Regions from separate parts of the Homo sapiens genome. Here region 2 is linked to region 1. Evidence: promoter capture Hi-C in human tissues and cell types (Jung and others, 2019). All regions are on one chromosome and are shown on one strand. Each heading gives the region's core, a stretch centred on a gene start or on the middle of the fragment in contact. The rest is flanking DNA. Distances are from core to core; before and after follow the strand shown.

The links. The method cuts DNA at HindIII sites, captures the fragments that hold promoters and counts their contacts. A contact is called where the count stands out against the background at its distance.
Region 2: a fragment that was not itself captured here is called in contact with the fragment with the promoter of NPBWR1 in region 1 in 1 of the 25 tissues and cell types used here (heart left ventricle).

Annotation. Positions count from the first base shown.
Region 1 is chr8:52,936,125-52,942,057 of GRCh38, forward strand. It overlaps NPBWR1 (neuropeptides B and W receptor 1), which reads left to right and starts at 3,058. Exons shown (of 2, transcript NM_005285.5): 1 at 3,058-3,242; 2 at 3,587-5,933. The coding sequence starts at 3,784. The coding sequence ends at 4,770. RefSeq lists enhancers at 3,233-3,864, 3,865-4,496. The HindIII fragment of the contact is 16,506 bases long and covers 1-5,933 here.
Region 2 is chr8:52,631,156-52,636,803 of GRCh38, forward strand. It overlaps RB1CC1 (RB1 inducible coiled-coil 1), which reads right to left. Exons shown (of 24, transcript NM_014781.5): 19 at 4,860-4,914; 20 at 3,766-3,813. Among named protein-coding and RNA genes, the nearest start is that of ALKAL1, 69 kb to the left of the region's middle. The HindIII fragment of the contact is 5,717 bases long and covers 1-4,419 here.

The DNA of each region.
Region 1 (5,933 bases), core at 1,808-4,307:
AGTCCCAGCTACTCGGGAGGCTGAGGCAGGAGAATCACTTGAACCTGGGAGGCACAGGCTCCCACCACCACACTTCAGCCTGGGCAACAGAGTGAGTGAGACTCTATCTCAAAAAAAAAAAAAAGTAAAATTACGTAGTACAAGTTGACAGCATATAATGAAAGCGTAAGTAGAGAAATTCACACTCATTAATTGAAATTCCCCCCCCCCGTCCTTTCAGTAACTAATGAGACAGTTAGATAAAAATATCAGCAGAAGCCAGGCACGGTGGCTCACACATGTAATCCCAGCACTTTAGGAGGCTGAGGTTGGTGGTTCGCTTGAGCTCAGGAACTCAAGACCAGCCTGGGCAACATGGTGAGATCCTGCCTCTACGAAAAATACAAAAAATTAGCCTGGTGTGGTGATGCGCACCTGTAATCCCAGCTACTAGGGGTGCTGAGAGGGGATGATTACTTGTGCCCAGGAGGTTGAGGCTGCAGTGAGCTGCAATTGCACCACTGTACTTCAGCCTGGGTGACAAAGCAAGACCCAGTCTCAAAAAAAAAGAAAAAAAATCAATAGAGAAATTTGAACAACATAGTAAGTTTGACTAGTTGACATATGTAGAGTTTTGCACCCAACAAGTGCAAAACAATTTTTCAAGTACACATGAAATAATTAGAAAATAACTATATACTGGGGAGTAAGTTTCAAAAAATATCTATGAATTGAAGTCATATTGAGTATGTTCTCAGTTTACAGTGTAATTCAACTGGAAGTCAACAATAAAAAGGCTAGAAAATCTCCAAACGGTTGAAGATGATCAACTATATACATACATGTGTATATATACACATAAACATATATGGACACACGTGTATACATACGTGTATATACACGTATATACACATGTGCATATGTGTATACAAACATTCACACGTGTATACACACGTGTATAAACTATATACATGTGCATATATACACACATACACACATGTGTGTATATATGTGTGTATATACACACGTGTGTATGTGTATATACACGTGTGCATATGTGTGTGTATATACACACAAGTGTGCATATATGTGTGTATATACACTGTGTATGTGTGTGTATATACACGTGCATATGTGTCTGTATATACACGTGTGTATATGTGCGTGTATATATGCGTGTGTATATATGTGTGTGTATATACACGTGTGTGTATATATGTGTATGTATACACGTATGTGTATATAGTTGATCATCTTCAACCGTTTGGAGATTTTCTATTATATATATTTTTTCTTTAACATTATATGGTGTTTTATCATATAGTGTTTCTTACGGACATAGCTTAAGAATCATCTGTTATTTTGTTTCACAGAAAGTGTGAAACTGCAGGGGAGCCGATTTGTATAGATCCTGGTAAAAAGATAATTGAGTAGGTAAATTCCAGGGAGCTTTTGGACAGTGGATCCCCCTGTCAGTGGTTTTGGAGTCCCTAGTTTCAGTTACTCGTGGTCAACTGTGGTCTAAAAATATTAAACAGAAAATTCCAGGAATAAACAGTTCCTAGGTTTTCAATTGTGTTGACTTCTGATTGGCGTGATGAGATCCAGCCATCTTACTCCTTCCCACAGAAAGTGAGTCCTCCCTTTGCCCAGCGTTTCCCTGCTGTCTACAATATCCACCTGTTAGTCACTTCACAATCTGGGTTATTAGATGACTGTGGCAATGACCAGTGTGGTGTCTTCAAGTTGCCTTGATTTTACTGACTTTTTGCCCTTATTTCTCTCTGGCTCCAAAGTGCAAGAGAAGTGATGCTGGCAATTCAGATATGCCAAAGAGAAGCTGCAAATGCCTCCTTTAAGTTAAAAGGTAAAAATTCTGGACTTAATAAGGAAAGAAAAAAAATCATATGCAGAGGTTGCCAAGATCTACTAAAAACAAATCTATCCACGAAAATGTGAAGAAGAAAAAAGAAATGCATGCTAGTTTTGCTGTTGCATCATTTTTGGATGGAAGAACAGAAACATGTTCCCATTGACCGCAATGGGTACTATCCATGGTTTCAGGCATCCACTGGGGCTCTTGGAACCTATCCCCCATAGGTATGGGGGGGCTACTGTATTTCTGGCCCCACAGTCTTCTACTGCCGACTTTAGGTCTCTCTGGATCTCAGGCCCCCTTCTCTAAGATGCATCCTAGAGGACCAAAAATACACTTTATTTGGGCTTCGCCTGCTTTTGTGGAAGGGTAGTTTACTAGAGGATATAATCTCGTGTTTTAATTTGCTCTCTCTCCTAAAGGAAATGTGGAGAAAAAAAAAAAGCAGAAATTGGAAATAACCAATATTTAGTTTATTTCATTCGATTCTTAGGGGAACTGGTGAGGAGCCTAAGATGATTTTCCCTTCCTAGAGAAAGAATCCAAAGTCCAGGGAAATAGCGACAGGGGAGTTCAAGACTGCCCCTGCTAGTCCTTCCTTGGCTACTCTCCGCTGCGATCGCAGGATAGCTCTCATTAGCAGGAGAATCGGGCAAGTGTGTGGATAAGTAGAGAGTGTGTTGAACAACTTGTAACGTTTTATGAAATACGCATTGTCATGGTTCCCTAAAAGGCTTTGCGGAAGCCGTTTGTCTTTACTAATCAAGTCTTTACTTACACAAAAGTAGAAGTAGAAGTAGTTTTAGAAAACATACTAACAATCTTCTATCCCCTTGAAGACCAGAGTAGCAGAAAACAGGTGATTTGCATTATAAAATTGCACTCACTTTTTCCTCCTTTCAGATTTCACATTACATTAGCCTATTTGTGTTACGGTGTATAAAAAATGGAACAGGCGCCTCCACTACATTGTTCTCCTTTAAAAATAGATCACTTACACCCTAACTTTGTTTTCCTTAAATTCGATTCTTAACAGGAGAGCTTTCTATTATTTCAGATGGAGTGAGGTTGCACGACTGGGATGGAAGAAAGGAATCCCTTAAATTTGGGGGAATTTCTGTTCTCTGTTCTAAGACCATTTTACTTGGGGTGTGGGGGTGGGCGCGGCGGTCAGGGCAGTGGAACGCAGTCGCGGCTGCGCCATCCCTGCACTTCCAGGCGCGCGGGAGGGACCGGCGGGGACGCGAGCTGCGGACTCTGGCGAACTCGGGGGAGGCAGACAGGGGGAGGCGGACACCCAGCCGGCAGGCGTCTCAGCCTCCCCGCAGCCGGCGGGCTTTTCTCCTGACAGCTCCAGGAAAGGCAGACCCCTTCCCCAGCCAGCCAGGTAAGGTAAAGACTGCTGTTGAGCTTGCTGTTACTGAGGGCGCACAGACCCTGGGGAGACCGAAGCTTGCCACTGCGGGATTCTGTGGGGTAACCTGGGTCTACGGAAGTTTCCTGAAAGAGGGGAGAAGGGTTTGCATTTTTCCTATGGAGGATTCTTCTCTCTCTAGCATTTCGTTTGATGTATTCAACTGGTAGAAGTGAGATTTCAACAGGTAGCAGAGAGCGCTCACGTGGAGGAGGTTTGGGGCGCCGCGGCGCCACCCCCACCCCTCCTCGGGACCGCGCCTATTTCTAAAGTTACACGTCGACGAACTAACCTATGCTTTAAATTCCTCTTTCCAGCCCCGTGAGTCCGCGGCGACATTGGGCCGTGGGGTGGCTGGGAACGGTCCCCTCCTCCGGAAAAACCAGAGAACGGCTTGGAGAGCTGAAACGAGCGTCCGCGAGCAGGTCCGTGCAGAACCGGGCTTCAGGACCGCTGAGCTCCGTAGGGCGTCCTTGGGGGACGCCAGGTCGCCGGCTCCTCTGCCCTCGTTGAGATGGACAACGCCTCGTTCTCGGAGCCCTGGCCCGCCAACGCATCGGGCCCGGACCCGGCGCTGAGCTGCTCCAACGCGTCGACTCTGGCGCCGCTGCCGGCGCCGCTGGCGGTGGCTGTACCAGTTGTCTACGCGGTGATCTGCGCCGTGGGTCTGGCGGGCAACTCCGCCGTGCTGTACGTGTTGCTGCGGGCGCCCCGCATGAAGACCGTCACCAACCTGTTCATCCTCAACCTGGCCATCGCCGACGAGCTCTTCACGCTGGTGCTGCCCATCAACATCGCCGACTTCCTGCTGCGGCAGTGGCCCTTCGGGGAGCTCATGTGCAAGCTCATCGTGGCTATCGACCAGTACAACACCTTCTCCAGCCTCTACTTCCTCACCGTCATGAGCGCCGACCGCTACCTGGTGGTGTTGGCCACTGCGGAGTCGCGCCGGGTGGCCGGCCGCACCTACAGCGCCGCGCGCGCGGTGAGCCTGGCCGTGTGGGGGATCGTCACACTCGTCGTGCTGCCCTTCGCAGTCTTCGCCCGGCTAGACGACGAGCAGGGCCGGCGCCAGTGCGTGCTAGTCTTTCCGCAGCCCGAGGCCTTCTGGTGGCGCGCGAGCCGCCTCTACACGCTCGTGCTGGGCTTCGCCATCCCCGTGTCCACCATCTGTGTCCTCTATACCACCCTGCTGTGCCGGCTGCATGCCATGCGGCTGGACAGCCACGCCAAGGCCCTGGAGCGCGCCAAGAAGCGGGTGACCTTCCTGGTGGTGGCAATCCTGGCGGTGTGCCTCCTCTGCTGGACGCCCTACCACCTGAGCACCGTGGTGGCGCTCACCACCGACCTCCCGCAGACGCCGCTGGTCATCGCTATCTCCTACTTCATCACCAGCCTGAGCTACGCCAACAGCTGCCTCAACCCCTTCCTCTACGCCTTCCTGGACGCCAGCTTCCGCAGGAACCTCCGCCAGCTGATAACTTGCCGCGCGGCAGCCTGACTCCCCCAGCGTCCGGCTCCGCAACTGCCCGCCACTCCTGGCCAGCGAGGGAGGAGCCGGCGCCAGAGTGCGGGACCAGACAGGCCGCCTAGGCCTCCTGGGGAAACCGACTCGCGCCCCATACCCGACCTAGCAGATCGGAAGCGCTGCGACTGTGCCCGCAGGTTGACCTTGCCAAGCCCTCCAGGTGATGCGCGGCCATGCCGGGTGAGGAGAACTGAGGCTGAGATCGCCACACTGAGGGCTCCCTAAAGCCGAGGTGGAGGAAGAGGAGGGTAGAGGAGGAGGGCGGTATTGCTGGGAACCGCCCCCTCCCTGCCCTGCTCCCTGCTGCCCCACCCGAGCCCTGGCAGTCTGGAACCTGGCTGGAGTCGGAACTCTCCGCGCCTTCGAAGGGAGGCCCGAGGACGCTGCCGGCGCCCCCAGGCGTCGGCTCCGCGCGGCCCCTGCTGTAGCTGGCGCACAGCCCCGGCGGGTCCCCTTGTCCTCCGCGCGCTCTGGGAAGACGGTCAGGCGCGCGCGTTTGGCGCCCACCCCTGTGAGACCCGCTTGGCCTGGCGCCGCGGGCGGGGACCGCTGCCGAGGCCGCCAGCGCCTCTTCAACTGGGGAAAACACAACAACTCGGGATGCCCCATCGGAGTGTGTATACACCTGTGTGTGTGTGTGTGTGGTGTGCGCGCGTTTGCGGAGGCATGAAATGCGGGGAAAGAGGCTGGCGCTTGGCAGTGACTGCCTAGAATATGATACGAATAGTGATCCTTCTTTCTGTCTGCCCCTACTCCTTTTCTTTGCCTTTTCCCTTTCCTATCCGTGATCTCCCCTGAAAATGTCAGACTCCCGGAGCAAGGAACCCGGAGTAGCCCGGGCGCGCGGTTCCGGCGCCCCCTGGAGGAGCCAGCGGCCGAGTGCTTAGCGTCGGAGGATCGCGGGGCTTTGTGGTGGAGCACTCCGGCTGAGCGCGCTTCACAGCGCTGTGGCACACTGGTCATCGTTGCTTATAGAGGATGCCAAGCCCCACCCCCATTCCCCCAATTGGCCTCGTCTCTTGTCTTACTTAGATCAGTTTGTTGTAACTGTTCATGTGTGTACTGTTTTTCAGGACTGAAAACTTTATAAATAATGTACATGTCCTAATCTCACGAGTTGCCATGAAGATCAAATA
Region 2 (5,648 bases), core at 311-2,810, 310 kb before region 1:
GGGGATGGGGTTGATTTACAATCTTACAACTTATGACCAGGAAGTTGAGTCTTTGAAGAGGAACTTAGTTGTCCCAACGAACAACAACAAAAAAACCAAAAAGATTTAAAATCTCCAGCCTGGGCAAAATGGTGAAACCCCATCTCTACCAAAAATACAAAAAATTAGCTGGGCATAATGGCAAGCGCCTATGGTCCCAGCTACTCGGAAGTCTGAGGTGGGAAGATCACTTGAGCCTGGAAGGCAGAGGTTAGAAGTATAATGCAGCAAGCAAAGACACCTGGTGACCATCAAACAGGCCATCTGGAGGCAGAACGCTGAGGAATTTAGAAGTAATTAAACTTTCCTAGCATGTGGTTACAGGTCTCTTTCAAAAATGTTGTAAGTAACTAGAATTTCTATACATCTCTGGAATGTATGCATGCCAAAACTCACTGAGCAACCCTTGCTGACATCAAGACACAAAAATGTCTACAAATGTAATCATTTATCATGACCTACACGGCCAACATTGGTCCAAACTACCTTTAAGATCCTGCCTTAAGGTCCATATATGCTCGTCGGGAAAATTCACCACAGCGTGCTCAGTCCTCTCTTGCTGAGGCACCCCGCTACACTCTTCAGCATCATTCGCTCTAATAAAACTTTCCTTTTTCAAACCTATACTGTTGTCAGTAAATTCTTCTTACCAAACCAGAGTCAACCACTTTGCAATGCCAGCGCTCTGACACCTTGCCTAGCAAACACTACTACTCTGGTTAAACTGGGGTGGGAGCATAAAGTTCTGAAGGCTGAGAACAAACCTCTTTTCTCATCTTCAATGAAACTTCTGAGATGTCTCAGTTTAAAAAAATTTGTGAACAATCACGAAACAATGAATTTTGTGATAGCCACCCACTTCCTCTACTGATGATGAGCACAATCAAATGGTACTTGCTAGCTGATAAGCTATAGCCATGGCTTAGCCGGGACTGTTCTCCTCTTCAAACAAGCTTCAATCCATTTATCCACACCATCTCATAAGACCTGAAGCATGGAAACCAAGGTCTTTGAAGCTTGAAAGGGTGATAAAAACACCTATTTTTCCCAAGCAAAGTGAGCCCAATGCATGGTTGCACAAACCAAGGACAGATAAGGATATTTTGTTTATTAAGTCAAATTTTGATGCTCTGAATTTCCTCCACTTCCCTCTGAACGCTATCTGGTACAATGCAGGGTTTTAAAAAGAGAAATAACACAACAAATAATAACTAGGAAGGCCTAAAACTGTATAGCAACTTACTAAAATTATCCAGACAAATGGTCTATATCCTGCCAGTGAAGATAAGATTGACCATCATTTTTAAGACCATAATTCAACTTTAGTTTTTTAAAAGCTTAAGTTTTTTATATATTACAAATGAAGACAATGGAAGAAAAAATTTGTTAATATAGCTGTAATTCTATGTGAAAGTGTGATTTACATTTGGACACCTTTCTGAATGTGACTGTGATGCTCTCTGGGTCTGAAAGACAATTTATTCTGTGAAAAGAAAATAAATCTTGGGAACCAAAAATCACTAAGGAAAAGGGAGGTCAAGCTGGGAACTACATCAAGCAAACCTGCCTCCCATTTTATTCCTAAAATAAGATAGCTACAAAGACCTCACAATTTGCCCACAAGAAAATTCCTTGTGGACAAAAAACAGACAGAACTTAAAGTCATCCCTCTGTTCCTCTGCTCATGTGAGACAAATGCGTATATGATTGCTTTCTCGGCCCCACTGCTTCACTAAGTCAGACTGAAGCATAAGTGACAATTCCTCTACCATCCTCTGACATGTAAATTGTGTATTCAGTGAAAGGCTAATCACAGTTTCAAAATAATGCAACCATTTGTCTCTTATCTACCTATGACCTGGAAGCCCTCTTCCCAGCTTTGAGTTGTCCCACCTTTCCAGACAGAACATCTTACACATACTGGTTGATATCTCATGTTTCCCTAAAATGTATAAAACCAAGCTGTGTCCTGACCACCTTGGGCACACGTCAGGACCTCCCGAGGCTGTGTCATGAGCTCGTCCTTAACCTTGGCAAAATAAACTTTCTAAATTGATTGAGACCTGTCTCAGATACTTTTGGGTTCACAATTAATCTACAAACATATGCCAAGCATCTATAGTATACCAGTTACCATTCTAGATGCTAAGAATGTAGCGGTGACCAAAACTGATTAAAATCGTTGCCAAACAGAGCTTATATTCTATTGAGGATAAATAAAGCATACTACATAAAACACGTATTGAGTCATGTCTGAGATAGACCATTCTTCTAAGTCTTTGTGATAAAATTAATGATTCACAGTATAATCACTACAAAATATGTGATTTTTGCTGTTCAAGTTAAGGTATAAAGAAGAAAGGAGATGTCTCACTACAAGATATTTTTATTTTTTAAACAAACTAAATTCTAAAAAGTATTTCAAAACTTTTCAAAAGCACTGAACAGAAGCCTTAAACTGTTCCTACTACCTTGTAAACTGTAATTAATAGAACTTGAAAAAATAAAGTTATTGCTTTATTAAAACATATAATTGGCTGTAAAATGGGCTGTTCAAATAATTGGTTAAATTCACAGGTTAAAGCCAAGGCAGTTTGGTTGGGTGCAGCAAAATTCCAGGCAATTCCAATTTGCCTGGAATCCCAGCACTTGGGGAGGCTGAGGCAGGCGGATCGCTTAAGCTCAGCAGTTCGAGACCAGCCTGGACAAGATGGTGAAACCCCATCTCTACGAAAACAAAAAAACAAAACCTAAAACCAAAACAAAACAAAAATTAGCTGGGTGCAGCGGCACTCGCCTGTACTCCCAGCTACTTGCTGAGCTGAGACAGGAGGATTGCTTGAGCCAAAGAGGTTGAAGCTGCAGTGAGCCAAGATCGCAACACCACACTTCAGCCTGGGCAACAGAGAGAGACCTTGTCTCGATTTTTTTTTTTTAATTAAAAACGAAACAAAACAAATCAATAAAAACCAGGGCAATTTACAGTACCACATGGGATCTCTTGCCTTTCAGGCACTTTCACTTAAAAATAAGATTCATGAAAAGGGCTGGGTGCAATGTTTCACACCTGTAACTCCCAGCACTTTGGGAGTCCAAGGTGCGCAGATCACCTGAGGCCAGGGGTTTGAGACCAGCCTGTCCAAAATGGAGAAATCCTGTCTCTATTAATTATGTAAAAATTAGCCGGGTGTGACGGCGCAGCACACTTGTAATCCCAGCTACTCGGGAGGCTAATGCACAAGAATCACTTGAACCCGGGAGGTGGAGGTTGCAGTGAGTCGAGATCACACCACTCCAGCCTAAGCTACAGAGCAAGACTGTCTTAAAAAAAAAAAATCATGAAAAGATACAATGTATTAAAATTACGCACACTTGTGAGTAAATATATTAATCTTCAAAAGACTTATGAAACATAACTCAAAACTGATTTTGATGATTTTAAGAATCTTAGGTGCTTCAACTGGTCAGACCTACAGCCGTAAATTCGCCAAGACATTATTTAATTTCACGCTAAGGAAAAAGTCTGACTCTACAGTCAGGAGATAACTCTGGCCTGACTTCAGCATTCTGAAAATCAATAGGATTCAATGACCAACACGGACCAACAAACCTACTATAGATAAGTCAATCAAAGCATACATCCTCTGATGGAATATCTTCATAATGAAATATAATGCAAATCATTTAAAAATGTTAAGACCAATTTACCAAGAAGAAAAATCTTACCAGTCTTTGATTTAACCGTTTATTTTCTTCTTCTTTCAATTGCAATGTCTGCAGGTGGAAAAAAGAGACCTGTGGTTTATCCTTGTACCTACTCAAATAAATCTAAACAGTGATTGTCAAAGTTTTCATCAGACAAAAATGTTTGGTTCGGGTATGAAAAGTTGATGGGGATATTATTTTCTATGAATTCTTTCCAAATGTTTTCATTATCTACTAGCTTAAATGAGAACCAGAGCAATTTTAGATACATTTACCAAGGACTGTCAAACATTAATATGCGTTAGAAACACCTGTGGAATATATAAATATGTAGTAAAAATCTGAGATCTATCCCCAGAGACTTTGTTAACTAAGTCGTGCCTAAGAGAATACATCTGGCATCTGTAACATACATCTCAGGTTATGCTGAGGTAGGAAATCACATAACCCTTTCATAATAGAAAACATGCTATATTCAAATGAAGTTGTACAATTCTGAATTTGGATTTTTATCAGACAATTACACTTGTAAAGAAAAAAAGGCATTGTTGAAAATCTTATAGGCCTAAAGAATGAAAAGTAATCTATGAACAATGATCTGCCAAATGTGTACCAATTTGATCTTATAGTACCCTTAATAAAGGAAACCCTTTATTATCAGTTTTTTCTTGTCCATTTCAATTCTTTATTTAAAACATAACTCCCTTCATTACTTATTTTTGTTTTTGCCAATTTCTAAAAAGTATTTAATACTTTGTTTTTGAAATAGATGTTTAAAATTGCCATTCATGTTATTTTGCTGAATTCTCAACTATTAGGTAAAACTATTACTTTACACATTGATTTAATAAAAACTACCAACTTTTTCCTCTCATACAGACTTCATTCATTGGGAAATTACAACAAATGGGAGGGCTGAAATACTGTCAACTGTTTAGCTAGTAAGATCATAAAATGACAAGACTTCCCAAAACAGTGACCACAAAAATAAGTTAATCATAAAAAGGCTTAATTTATAAACACAAATAGTCTATTGTATGTTTCCAGAATGAAGTTTAACTGTATCCAAAAGTGAACATATTAAACATGGTACTTCAAGAAGATAATTTACTTACTCGTTCTAACAGCATTATCCGCTGTTTTTCTTCAGACAACATATGAATATTTTCTCTAAAAGTGAGAATAATTGAGTTTCAGTTTGAAATTCTAAACTTTACATTCTTCAAGATTTTAGAAATTAAAATATTAATACAGATCACTTTAACAATTTAAGGGTTTTCATAAATTTTCAAAAGTAGCTTATTTCAGTTAGCATGTAATTTCAATGTTGTATATTCTCTGTAGCAGACCTAGATCTATAAACCTTTTGAAATAATAAGTAAAACTCTGTGTATGCATTTATCTAGAGATGTCTTTAAATTTCTTATTTTTCCCAGGCATTAAGAACCACTCTTCTTAATATTTGTGAGTGAATCCATGATAAAGTCGTAGTTCTTGAGTGGCTAAAGACTTCAGTAGATTTACTAAGTGGATGCTATGTACTCACTAGTTACTATGCCAGGTGTGAATTTGCCCAATACACTAAAACATCCAAAAACAAATTAGAAAATTTTAAAAAATGCTATAAAATTAGAAAAGAGAAAAACAATTATTATTTAGGTTTTAAAATTCATCTACAGGTATAATCCCCAAATTATATTTCAAGTAACTTGATGCAAGGCAGGTATTCTGTCTTCTTCAACATGCTACTTCTTTAGGAAGACGCTTTGCCTAATATAAGGTCATAAAGATTGACTTCTGTAAGAGTTTTATAATTTTAGCTTTTACACTTAAGTCTATGATCTATTTAAGTCAACCTGCGCATATGGTGAGGAAAGGGTCCAACTTCATCCTTTTGCATCAGA